2 separate regions of the Homo sapiens genome follow, and region 1 is linked to region 2. The links are contacts of gene promoters, found by promoter capture Hi-C in human tissues and cell types (Jung and others, 2019). All regions are on one chromosome and are shown on one strand. Each heading gives the region's core, a stretch centred on a gene start or on the middle of the fragment in contact. The rest is flanking DNA. Distances are from core to core; before and after follow the strand shown.

Region 1 (5,877 bases), core at 2,754-5,253, 420 kb after region 2:
GGCTTGGTGGTGAGGGAAGGATGAAGAAGAGTTAGAAGAATCAGAATTGACTGAAAATTTGTAGGATGAATGTCTAGGGGAATAATATTACCCAAAACACCAGTGTAGATGAGGAAAATGATATGGTGACAGTAATAATGAGGGGTCAGAGGGAGAGCAGTGACTAATTTTTTTTTTTTAATTTGCATTTCACTAGCTGGAGGTACCTCAAGAAAAAGATGTTGTGTGTGAATGTGCAGGGCTGAGGGAAAGGTCCATGCTAGACACACAGATTTGAGAGTCATCTGCAAAGTATACTCCAGGAAAGATAGAACAAATGGCACTATATATCCACAGAAAACTTAGAAACACTATTCCTGAAATAAAGATTGCCTTTGCTCATTGAAAATGTTCACAGTGTTTCAAGTTAACAACTAGTAAAGGACCAAGAGCAAGAACTATCCTCAGGAAAATACTGGCTATAAAAAGAAAGACCTGAAGCTCTATGTGTACAAGTGGTGCTTGTAAATTTTTCTGAGTAGTCTGGTGGTGATTATTGGGGCATCCCCAGATATTGATATTTGGAGATATTTTCTCTGGGGCAATTCAGAATTTTTTTTTTTTTTTTTTTCGAGTTGGAGTCTCGATCTGTCGCCCAGGCTGGAGTGCAGCTGCGAGATCTCTACTCACCACAAGCTCCGCCTCCCGGGTTCACGCCATTCTCCTGCCTCAGCCTCCCAGGTGGCTGGGATTACAGGCGCGCCCGCCACCACGCCCGGCTAATTTTTTTGTATTTTTAGTAGAGGCGGGGTTTCACCATGTTAGCCGGGATGGTCTCGATCTCCTGACCTTGTGATCCGCCCACCTCAGCCTCCCAAAGTGCTGGGATTACGCCACCATGCCCGGCCCAGAATTTTTTTTTAATAGATTATTCTTCCAATTGCCTGAATTCAGAACAACACCTGGCTCCTGATGTTCTAGGGGCAGGGAGCGGGAAAAAGGATGGGGCTTCACTGTTCATTTTGCAGACTTTGACGTTATCCCCATTTTACGTTATCCCCCAATCGAACTGATCTCTGTACCTAATGCTCTAAGTTCAGACCCTCTTCATTTCAGTTTCTCCAGAGAATAAAACTCTAGGGTCTTGACAAAGGTGTATCTTCCGTGCAAGGTGGGGTATGTGGGTTGGGCATTGTTCCATATATAGACTTTTAGCCAGTCCTGGTATTTCTCACTTTCATGTATTCTAGGAAACGGGTAACTCCAAGGCTTGGATCTTTGGGGGGTTCTCTGAGAGCTCTTTGTCTTGGTACTTACTGGTATTCCCCCTCAACGCATTTTAGGGTATAGCTTCTAATAAGTAAAGCTGGAATCCATTTCTCCATCTGTGTTAGTCTGTTTTGCATTACTATTAATATAAAGGAATACCTGAGGCTGGGTAATTTATAAAGAAAAGAGGGGCCTCCCACTTTGGGAGGCTGAGGCGGGCGGATCATGAGGTCAAGAGACTGAGACCATCCTGGCCAACATGGTGAAACTCGTCTCTACTAAAAATAAAAAAATTAGCTGGGCGTGGTGGCACGTGCCTGTAGTCCCAGCTACTCCGGAGGCCGAGGCAGGAGAATCACTTGGACCTGGGAGGCGGAGGTTGCAGTGAGCCCAGATCGCATCACTGCACTGCAGCCTGGCTACCGAGCGAGACTCCATCTCAAAAAAAAAAAGAAAAAAAGAAGAGAGGTTTGTTTGGCTCATGATTCTGCAGACTGTACAAGAAGCATGTCACTAGTATCTATGTCTGATAGGGGACTCAGGAAGGTTCTACTCATGTTGAAGGGTGAAGGGGAAGCAGGCATGTCACACGGTGAGAAAGTGAGCTAGAGAGATGCCAGGCTCTTTTAAACAACCAGCCCAGCTCTCACGTGACGTAATAGAACAAGAACTCACTAATTACCAACGGGAAGGCACCAAACCATTGAGGAGGGATTTGTCCTCATTACCCAAACACTTCCCACCGGGCCTCACCTTGAACGCTGGAGATCAAATTTTAACATGGTATTTGGTGGGGACAAACCCTATCAGCAGCTGCTTTTAATATTTAAAAAAATATTTTGAGAGAGGGCCCACAGACCCTCTGAAAGAAGCAGACTGCTCCTGCAGGACCCGGGGGACACCCCAAATACTGTGAGTGCCCCAACTGCGGAAGTGGGAAAGGGAGACCCTCCTTTCCGGAACACACACCCCCTACTGGAGAAGCTGAAGGTCTGCTTCCGGGAGATGCTCCCGACTTCACCTGGAGCTGAGTCAAGTTAGAGAACCGGACCAAGCGAAATACAGGGGCAGAGGAGGCAGCAGGGAGGCCCTGGGAGCTCTTTGAATCCCCAGGTAGCCTATTCCTGCCTGGCACCACTGGGATTCATCAGGAGGGAGGCCAGAGGAGCAGGAGGTAAAACCCTACCGGGAGAAGGACTTCCCTAGCTGAATTTTGTAACAATTTGAGTGGGGCGAGAAGCCTCCTGGCCGGAACTTGGGGGAGGATGCGGATCTGGCTTGCAGACTTCACAGGTGGGGGAAGAACTAAAGCCCTTTTCTTTCACAGGTGGGAGGCGGAAAGCCTCGGGCAAGTTTTCAAGCCCGTCCTCTGTCTGGAAACAGACTCAGAGGTGTTGCAGGGGACACGGTGGGAGTGAGACCAGCCCTTCGGTGTGCGTGGGATCTGGGGGAGGCCTGTGACTGCCGGCTTTCCCCTGCTTCTCTGACAACCTGCATGACTCAGCAGAGGCAGCCATAATCCTGGAGAGCCCCGGTTTAAGATCTCCAGGTGAAGTAGATTTTTATTGTAAGTAACTCCTGTACTTTTTAAGTTGTGAGACATGCATTCAAGGTTGAATTCTGAAATCATGTCTGAATTAACTTCACTGGAGTCTTCTGTTGCCCTTATAGAGTAGGGAATTCTCATAGTTCTGCTAGTAATTGTTTTTTGAGGGGGCAGGTGTGGTCTAACAAGGAAAGGCTAGAGAGCAATTAGGACCAAGGGAAAGACCTTGGGCCATGGAAGGTTGAGTTCTCTGAAAGTTTTAAAAATATAAATATGTATTTTTACTCTAGAGATGCGGTCTCACTAAGTTGTCCAGGCTGGTCTCAAGTAATCCTCCTGCCTTAGCCTCCCAAAGTTCTGGGATTACAGGAATGAGCCACCACACCTGGCCTCACCTCAGAACGTTTTGAAAATTTTAGTTTTGTCTGTTTGCTTGTTCAATCATTCTGCATGACTGGATATGGTGAGGATCATGTAATTTGGGGGACAGAGGAAGAACTCTTGGATTTTTTTGGATGACTTTACTGGTGCGATGAGTTCCCTGGTCACTTGACAGGGCAAGTAGAATTCCTCAGGAGGGGAAAATTTGTTCTAAGAGAACAAACAGTTGCAGCTGTGGGCTTCTTACGTGGAAAAGCTTCTAGTCAATAAGTGAACATAAAAACAATGGCCAGGGCATATTAATAACACTGACTTAGGAAGTTGAATAAAATATCTTTGCCAATAGAGAAAGAGTCCTGCTAGAGGTGGCTCTCTTCCTCGTTCTACCTTTATAACTTTTCCAGGATTCTGTTGTTGGCAGATATTCCAAGTAAGGAGTGAAGTTTCCCCACAAATGATGATGAAGGCATTGAGTCAGTATTTTCCCATGATGAAAAATTTTGTGAAGACTGAACTTCAGGTCAGGGACGAAGGAGAGCCCAAGTAGCCTTCTCAGTGTCTTCAAAGCCTATCTTTGGACTTTTTGGTGGGTAAAACATCCACCTTGTTTTCAATTAGCCTTTTCATCTTCAGGGGCCTTTAACTGAGATATTTTAATGTCCTCAAATAGAGGATAAATTGGCAAACTGAGTAGGTTTAATATCTGGTCTGATTACAGTGGGACTGGGACAGATTTATAAACTGCTACTTAGCATACTTATCAGCTGAGCTTCCCCTTGCCTTAGGGGTCTATTGCCCATATAAGCTTCTATCTTGAGTATGGCCAGCTCTTGTAATAATAAGGCCTCTAGGAGGTTACCCACATTTCCCATTTTAAACTAGTAGTCACAAATTCCCTGGCTTTCCACAACAGGTCAAAGTCATGTAATACCCTAAAAACATATCTGTTATCTGTGTTGATGTTAACTCTTTGATTCTTAGCTAAAGTGTAGGTTCTTGTGAGAGCCACAAATTATTCTATCTGATATAATTTGCACTGGGTAAAGCCTCATATGTTATGGGACTGTGGATATATGCAATGGCATATTCAGCCTGGAAACCTCTTTCTGAAGTCAGAGGTATGAACTATCAACAAAGAAAATGAGATCTGGATCTATAAGAGGTACTTCAGAAAGATCAGGACGGGGAAAGGTTAGAGCTTAGGTGGCTGAAATACAGTCATGGTGGTTGTACTTCAGTTGGGAGAGAAATGGTAACAAGGTTAAGATTTTGGTAATGGTGAATAGTAATGTGAGAAGGAGCAAACAAAAGGATCTCATAAGAGGTAAGGTTAGAGGTTGAAAAACGTTGGGGGTTCGCAGTCAGGACAAAGATGTGAACCACTTGGGCACAGAAGTGTGCGAAGTATGACCTAGCACAAAATCAACTGTGGCTTGAATCAAATTTGCTGTTGCCATGACAACTCAGAAGCAAGGAAGGAAGGCTTGAGCTATAGGGCCTAGCAAGAAGGTAAAATATCCAATGGGCCTCAGGCTCCTTTTGTATTTCTGAGACAGGACATCTAAAGTATGTTCTCTCTCATGAATGAATAGGCAGAAGGGCAAGGAGTAGTTGGGGAGTCCCAAGCTGGGGGAAGAGGAAAGGGAGGTTTTTAAAAGGATCCAATACTGTTATAGAGGTTAATTCTCGTTCTAGGGGTTCAGACAAGGAATCCACATTCTACAATAGCCAACCAGTCTGAGAAAGTCCAGGAGTTGTCTCATTGTTTTAGATAAAGTGTAATTAAGGATGCTTTTCATACATCTGGAGACAAAGTTTTTCCCTTACAGGAGATGTCATGTTTTAGAGAGTGAAACTGAAAATAGGAAAACTAAGGATAGTGAAATTATATTTTGTCTCTTGAAAACAATGTCCCTTTTAAGTCAGATCATCCAAAAGGTATCGAGTATCTGCCAATAAATTATCAAATGTACTGGAGCAAAGAAGGTGGACATCTACGTATTGCATGACGATGCAATTACAAAGGAAAACCAAATCCTTTAAATTTGCATTTTTAAAAATATTAAACATTTAGGTTCAGGGGTACATATGCAGGTTTGTTACGTAGGTAAATTTTGTGTCATAGAGGTTTGGTGTACAGATTATTTTGTCACCCAGGTGATAAGCAGGTTTCTTGATAGGTAGTTTGTTTTGATCCCCACTCTCCTCCCACCCTCCACCCTCAAGTACGCCTCAGTGTCTGTTGTTCCCTTCCTTGTGTCCAGTTATAAGTTAAAACACGTAGTCTTTAGTTTTCTGTTCCTGCATTAGTTCGCTTAGGATAATGGCCTCCAGCCCCATCCATGTTGCTGCAAAGGACATGACCTTTTTTTTAATGGCTATGTAGTATTCCATGATGTATACGTACCACATTTTCTTTATCCAGTCTACCATTGATGGACATTTAGGTTGATTCCATGTCTTTACTGTTACGAATAGTGCTAGGTGAACATATGTGTCCACGTGTCTTTGGGGCAAAACAATTTATGTTCCTTTGGGTATATACCCAATAATGGGATTTCTGGGCTAAATGGTAGTCCTGTTTTAAGTACTTTGAGAAAATGCCAAACTGTTTTCCCTAGTGGCTGAACTAATTTACGCTCCCACCAGCAGTATATAAGCATTTCCTTTTCTGTGCAACTTCTCCAGCGGCTGTTATTTTT
Region 2 (5,763 bases), core at 1-2,500:
GCCCAGAAAAGACTAGTCCCAGGAGACAGGCGCGCAGGGCCTACTTACGATGGTGTCGCACCAGAACTCGGCCACCTCGTGCACCCGCATGGAGGTAAGCAGGATCTCCCAGACCTCGAGCTTGAACATGTTTCCGATGATGATGTGCATGGGCTGGCCCACCTGCCGACTGTCGTCAATGACTGTCCGCTCCTCATCACATTTCATGGTGCGGAAATGAAAGATCACCTAGTCACCGAGACGGTGCACTCTGCTCTAGACACACTGTTCAAGGCCCGGCAGAAGCCACCCCCTTGCCACCGACACCCAGGGCTGTCCCCAGGGTCAGCTCACTCAGTTCACCCCATCAGATGCCTCAGACCCCTGGAGCACCTCCACCCTGCCTGCACCCCCCAGGGAGGAGGGACCCACCCCTCCCTACAGACCCCATTCCACTCCCCACAGCCCTGTGCGTCCAGAAATCCTTCCTCAAGTAAGCCCGAGTTCTTTTTTTTTTTTTTTTTTCTGAGACAGAGTCTCACTCTGTTGCCCAGGTTGGAGTGCAGTGGTATGATCTCGGCTCACTGCAACCTCCACCTCCTGGGCTCAAGTGATTCTCCTGCCTCAGTCTCCTGAGTATCTGAACTGGGATTACAGGCGCCCAGCACATCTGGCTAATTTTTGTATTTTCAGTAGAGATGGGGTTTCACATGTTGGTCAGGCTGGTCTCGAACTCTTGACCTCATGATCTGCCCATCTTGGCCTCCCAAAGTGCTGGGATTACAGGCGGGAGCCGCCTCGCCTGGCCAAAGCCCGAATTCTGTAGCCACAGACGCACCCTTCAGTCCAGGGAAGCCTAACAGACATTTGGGGACAAATACCAAGACTCCTCGGACTCCCTTTCTTCTCACTCAACATTTAGGGCCCCAGAAAATTCCCAAAAGCCCTTCCCCTCAGCCCATGCTAAAGTTGAATCTGCAAAGTACCAAAAATGCCCCCTGAATGGGTAAACGCTGGGAGCTCCCCGGAGGCCCAGCGCTGGGGCTGCCTGGCTGTTTTTTTGGCACAGCTGAAAGCTGTTTACAGTGCCTTGGGGCACACCTGGAATGTTGAAAGCTGCTGTGGGGGACCCTGTCTGCTCCGGAGGGGCCCCACTCACTCGGGATCCGGTGATGAAGTTTGGGAGCTCGCCCGTGCCCCCGTGCAGAATGGTTTTCTTGACCCCTTCCACGTTCAGGAGCAGAGCGGCATCCATGGCTGCAGGAGAAAGGGAGGTGTCCAGCACAGGCGGAGATAATCTCACCTCCGGGGAAGACACTTAGGCGGCTGAGACTCTGGGATTTACCCAGCCAGGAGGAGTGGGGGGAAGGGCAGACGGTGGGGGCGGTGACCTAGGCGCCCCGGCTTCTCATCAGAGCCACTCGGGCCGGGCCTGTGGTCCACAGGCAGCCTCGCCTCCTATCCCATCCACCTTTGCTTCCAGTGATTCTGGGCCCCTGCCCAGGGTTGTGCTAGATTTGGCTTTTTGTTCCACCCCAAGAAGGAAAAAGGTCCGCTGAGCTTTCTTAAAGAAGACAGGGGACCAGGCGCGGTGACTCACGCCTGTAATCCCAGCACTTTGGGAGGCCGAGGCGGGCAGATCACAAGGTCAAGAGATCGAGACCATCCTGGCTAATATGGTGAAACCCCATCTCTACTAAAAATACAAAAATTAGCCGGGGGTGGTGGCGGGCGCCTGTAGTTCCAGCTACTCGGGAGGCTGAAGCAGGAGAATCGCTTGAACCCGGGAGGCGGAGGTTGCAGTGAGCCAAGATAGCGCCACTGCACTCCAGCCTGGCGATGTGGAGAGAGGCCTGGAGGCCACTGAAGGGGAAAAGGAGGGGAGGCATGGGCTGGGCCCAGACTCTAAGTCCCCGAGGACCCCAGGCCAGCCGGGGTGACAGCTGCCCTTTGCCATCCAGCCACCTTTCTGCTTTCCCTGTTCCCCCTCCCCTCCCCAGAATCTGCCTTCAGGAGGCCCTGCGATGGTGGCCCAAGGCAAGAGGGGACAGGTTTCTGGCTTGGGAGAGAAGGAAGACGGAGAACGAAAGGCGGGGTGGGTTTGGGTAAAGTTGAGGCGCCCTCCGCAGCCCCGCTCCTGCCTCCCCTGCAAGGTCTGGCTGGGGGAAGGGTGGGTATCCCCTCCCCTCCCCTCCCCTCCCCTCCCCTTTGGAGGCCCTTAGCCCTGTGCCCTGGGAACCAGGCAGAGTTTATTGAGGGCATCAGGGACGCCCAGAAGGGCTGGGAAACATAAATGCGAAGACCTGGTGTTTGGCACCACCGTGTGGCCAGTTCAAGCTCCTACACCTCCGCACCCTGAGGGCACTGGACTCAGCTCCACGAAACCATTCTCTTCCTGACACCAGGCTCACCGGTTGCAGAGGGAAGGGGTGCAGGACTCTGCTACAGGGAGAGATAAAAACACGGGACTAAGGAGGCTGAAGTAGGTGGATCACCTGAGGTCAGGAGTTTTGTATTTTTAGTAGTCTGTACTAAAAATACAAAAATTACCCAGGCATGGTGGTGCGCACCTGTAATCCCAGCTACTCAGGAGGCTGAGGCAGGAGCCTCGCTTGAACCCGGGAGGCGGAGGTTGCAGTGAGCTGAGATCGTGCCACTGCACTCCAGCCTGAGCAACACAGCGAGACTCTGTCTCAAAAAAACAAAACAAAACAAAAAATGCTAGACTAGGCTGGGTGCAGTGGCTCATGGCTGTAATCCTAGGACTTTGGGAGCCAAGGCAGGTGGATCACCTCAGATCAGGAGTTAGAGACCAGCCTGGCCAACATGATGAATCCCCATCTCTACTAAAATTACAAAACTTAGTCGGATGTGGTGGTGGGCACCTGTAATCCCAGCTACTCAGGAGGTTGAGGCAGGAGAATCGCTTGAATCCAGGAGATGAAGGTTGCTGTGCACCAAGATCATGCTGCTGCACTCCAGCCTGGGGCACAGAGTGAGACTGTGTCAGAAGAAGAAGAAGAAGGAGAAGGAAGAGGAGGAGGAGGAGGAGGAGGGAAGAGGGAAGAGGGAAGAGGGAAGAAGAAGGAAGAAGAAGAAGAAGACTGGACTGAGCCAGATACAGCTAAGTTCAAAGGGCTGATCCTTTCCTATTTACTGACCTTGTTGCCTTGGATGTCTCTCGTTTTCTCTAACTGCATTTTCCCAACTGAAATGAGAAAATTGACCTCTCCTGCTCCTTCTCAGGGGAAGTTGGGAGGGCTGCAGCAGTGAATGGCACCCTGAAATCCGGCACTCATGAAAGTCTTGCTTCCCGTGAGGAGTCATTGGCATAGAGGAGACCAAACCTGGGCCAACTGGTCAGGCCCAGGGAATCCTGGCCAGATCCCCAAGGGTCCAGTCTCCATCCCTGGAAGGCAGAAGGCTGCTGAAAACCTTCCCCTTCTCTCTTCCATCCTTTCTCCAGCCACACGGCAACCTAGAGAGGTCTGCATGCATAGGTAAAATGGATACTTAGTAAAACTAATACAGGAATTATTAAGAAATAATTTTTAGGCAGATAGTAAGGGTAAAGGTTCTTGGTGGAAATTTTCCTGCAATAAAAAACAAGCCCCCAAACCATCTCTTTTCTAACAGAAAAGGCTGCTTAAAGGGCCAGGCTGGCAAACCTTGACATGCAAATGCTGGCCATTAGAAACTGGGTTCACTCATATGGAGATTCCTGCTGTCTTTTCCCTGTCACCAGGTGTACCGAGTGTCGTGGCCACCTCCAGATAACACCTTGTGTTCAGAACATCATAGCGACCCACATTTGCATATTAAAGGACTAAGGTGGGAAGGCCAGGTGTTTTGCGGGGTTTGTAAATGACACACCTGGTCAAACCAATCCCCTGGGCCCTATGGAAATCAGACACCACCTCCTCAGCCTCCTCATATAAGCAGCTACTTCCCACCACCCTCACCCTAAACAGGGGGTTTTCTCTTTGTTCAAATCCCCCCCCTCTGTCTCTGTATGGGGGGGCTATTCTCTTCTTCCTTCCTTCTTTCTTGCCTATTAAACTTTTCACTCCTTAAAACTACTCCACGTATGTTCGTGTTGTTAATCCTATTGGAGCAAGACCAAGAACCCTGGAGTTCCTCCAGTCATCAGAGCCGTATCAAAACTACAAAGGAAAATAAAAGTATTTATCATAAAAGTCTAAGGAGACAGGAAGAACACACTTGTCACTTGCGGGTGGCAAGTGTCTGCTTCTGGGATGCTGGCAGTGCTCACCCTTGACCTAGGTGATGGTTACATGGGTGTTGGCTTTATAAGTACAGTAAGTCCTCACTTAATGTCCTTTTAGGTTCTTGGAAACTGCAGTCTGAAATGAAAGGACATACATCAGGTCCTCAAATAACATCGTTTCAATCAATGTCATCATTTCATTATAATGTTGATGAGAAAAAAAGGTGGTTTCCTTATATGTCATTTCATTTAAAGTCAGTCTTCTTTTTTTTTTTTTTTTTCTGAGATGGAACTTTGCTCTTGTCACCCAGGCTGGAGTGCAATGGCGCGATCTTGACTCACTGCAACCTCCACCTCCTGGGTTCAAGTGATTCTCCTGCCTCAGCCTCCCAAGTAGCTGGGATTACAGGTGCCTGCCACTTCACCCAGCTATTTTTTTTTTTTTTTTTTTTTTTTTTTTTAGTGGATACGGAGTTTCATCACATTGGCCACTGGCCAGGCTGGTCTCAAACTCCTGACCTCAGGTGATCCACCCACCTTGGCCTCCCAAAGTGCTGGGATTACAGGCGTGAGCCACCACGCCCGGCCTAAAGTCAGTTTTCAAACACCTATTGACAGCATTAAGTAAGGACTCACTGTATTCATGACACTAGATTTTATGTCTTAGGCAGTTTTCTATCGGTGATATAATTCACAGTGAAAAGGATCCAATCATGTCTCTTCTCACACTTCTTAAAACTCTCCCACTGTTTCTGTTGTTTCCCTTTGTAGAGGGTCGAAGGGCACACACACATTGCAGAGATGTTTAAACAGTAGAACTGATAGATGTAGCCTGTAGCTGATTGGGGGATGTGGGGGCGAGAAGAAAAGGGGATGTTGAAGCCGATGCCAGGGGGGTTGGTTTCCCTGCTGAGAAGAATGAGGATTCACTCCTGGTCTGTGCCTGGAGTTGTGCCACAGGCTACAGACTGATGCCCCAGAAACCCTTTGCCCCCTGTCTTAGTTCATTTTCTGTGATTATAACTGAACACCACAGAATGCATAATTTATTTTTTTAAAAAAGACATTTATTTAGCTCATAGTTCTGGATGCTGGGAAATCCAAGAGCATGGTGCTGGCATCTGGTGAGGGCCTTCTTGCTGCATCATAACGTGGTGGAAGGCATCACATGGTGAGAGGACAAGAGCACGCACATCAGCTCAGGTCTCCATTCCTCTTCTTGTAAAGCCTCCAATCCTATCACAGGGTCCTACCCTGATAATATTATCTAATCCTAATGACCCTCCAAAGGTCCCACCCATAAATATCATCAACATACGAATTTGAGGATTCGGTTTCCAACAGATGAAATTTGGGGGACACATTAAAACCATAGCTGCTCCCAAACCAGTCTCCTCATGGACTTTATTAAAATGCCAATCTAATAACCTACTGCCCTCTTCAAATTCAGCAAAGAGTTGCCACCACCTTCAGGACAAATTTTAAGCTCCTTCTCTGGCCTACAGACCCTGTCTCTTGCCACCCCATCCCCTACCCTCAGCCCCTCATCTCAGCCC

Evidence for each region. Contacts are between HindIII fragments. The study calls those that stand out against the background at their distance.
Region 1: a fragment that was not itself captured here is called in contact with the fragment with the promoter of AIPL1 in region 2 in 1 of the 25 tissues and cell types used here (stomach).

The regions. Positions count from the first base shown.
Region 1 is chr17:6,851,639-6,857,515 of GRCh38, forward strand. It overlaps the pseudogene ALOX12P2. Among named protein-coding and RNA genes, the nearest start is that of TEKT1, 23 kb to the left of the region's middle. RefSeq lists an enhancer at 2,140-3,339. The HindIII fragment of the contact is 5,362 bases long and covers 1,323-5,877 here.
Region 2 is chr17:6,433,871-6,439,633 of GRCh38, forward strand. It overlaps AIPL1 (AIP like 1 HSP90 co-chaperone), which reads right to left and starts at 1,251. Exons shown (of 6, transcript NM_014336.5): 1 at 1,139-1,251; 2 at 49-228. The coding sequence starts at 1,234. It overlaps LOC107985017 (a long non-coding RNA gene), which reads right to left. Exons shown (of 3, transcript XR_001752776.2): 3 at 3,428-3,467. The HindIII fragment of the contact is 7,871 bases long and covers 1-4,095 here.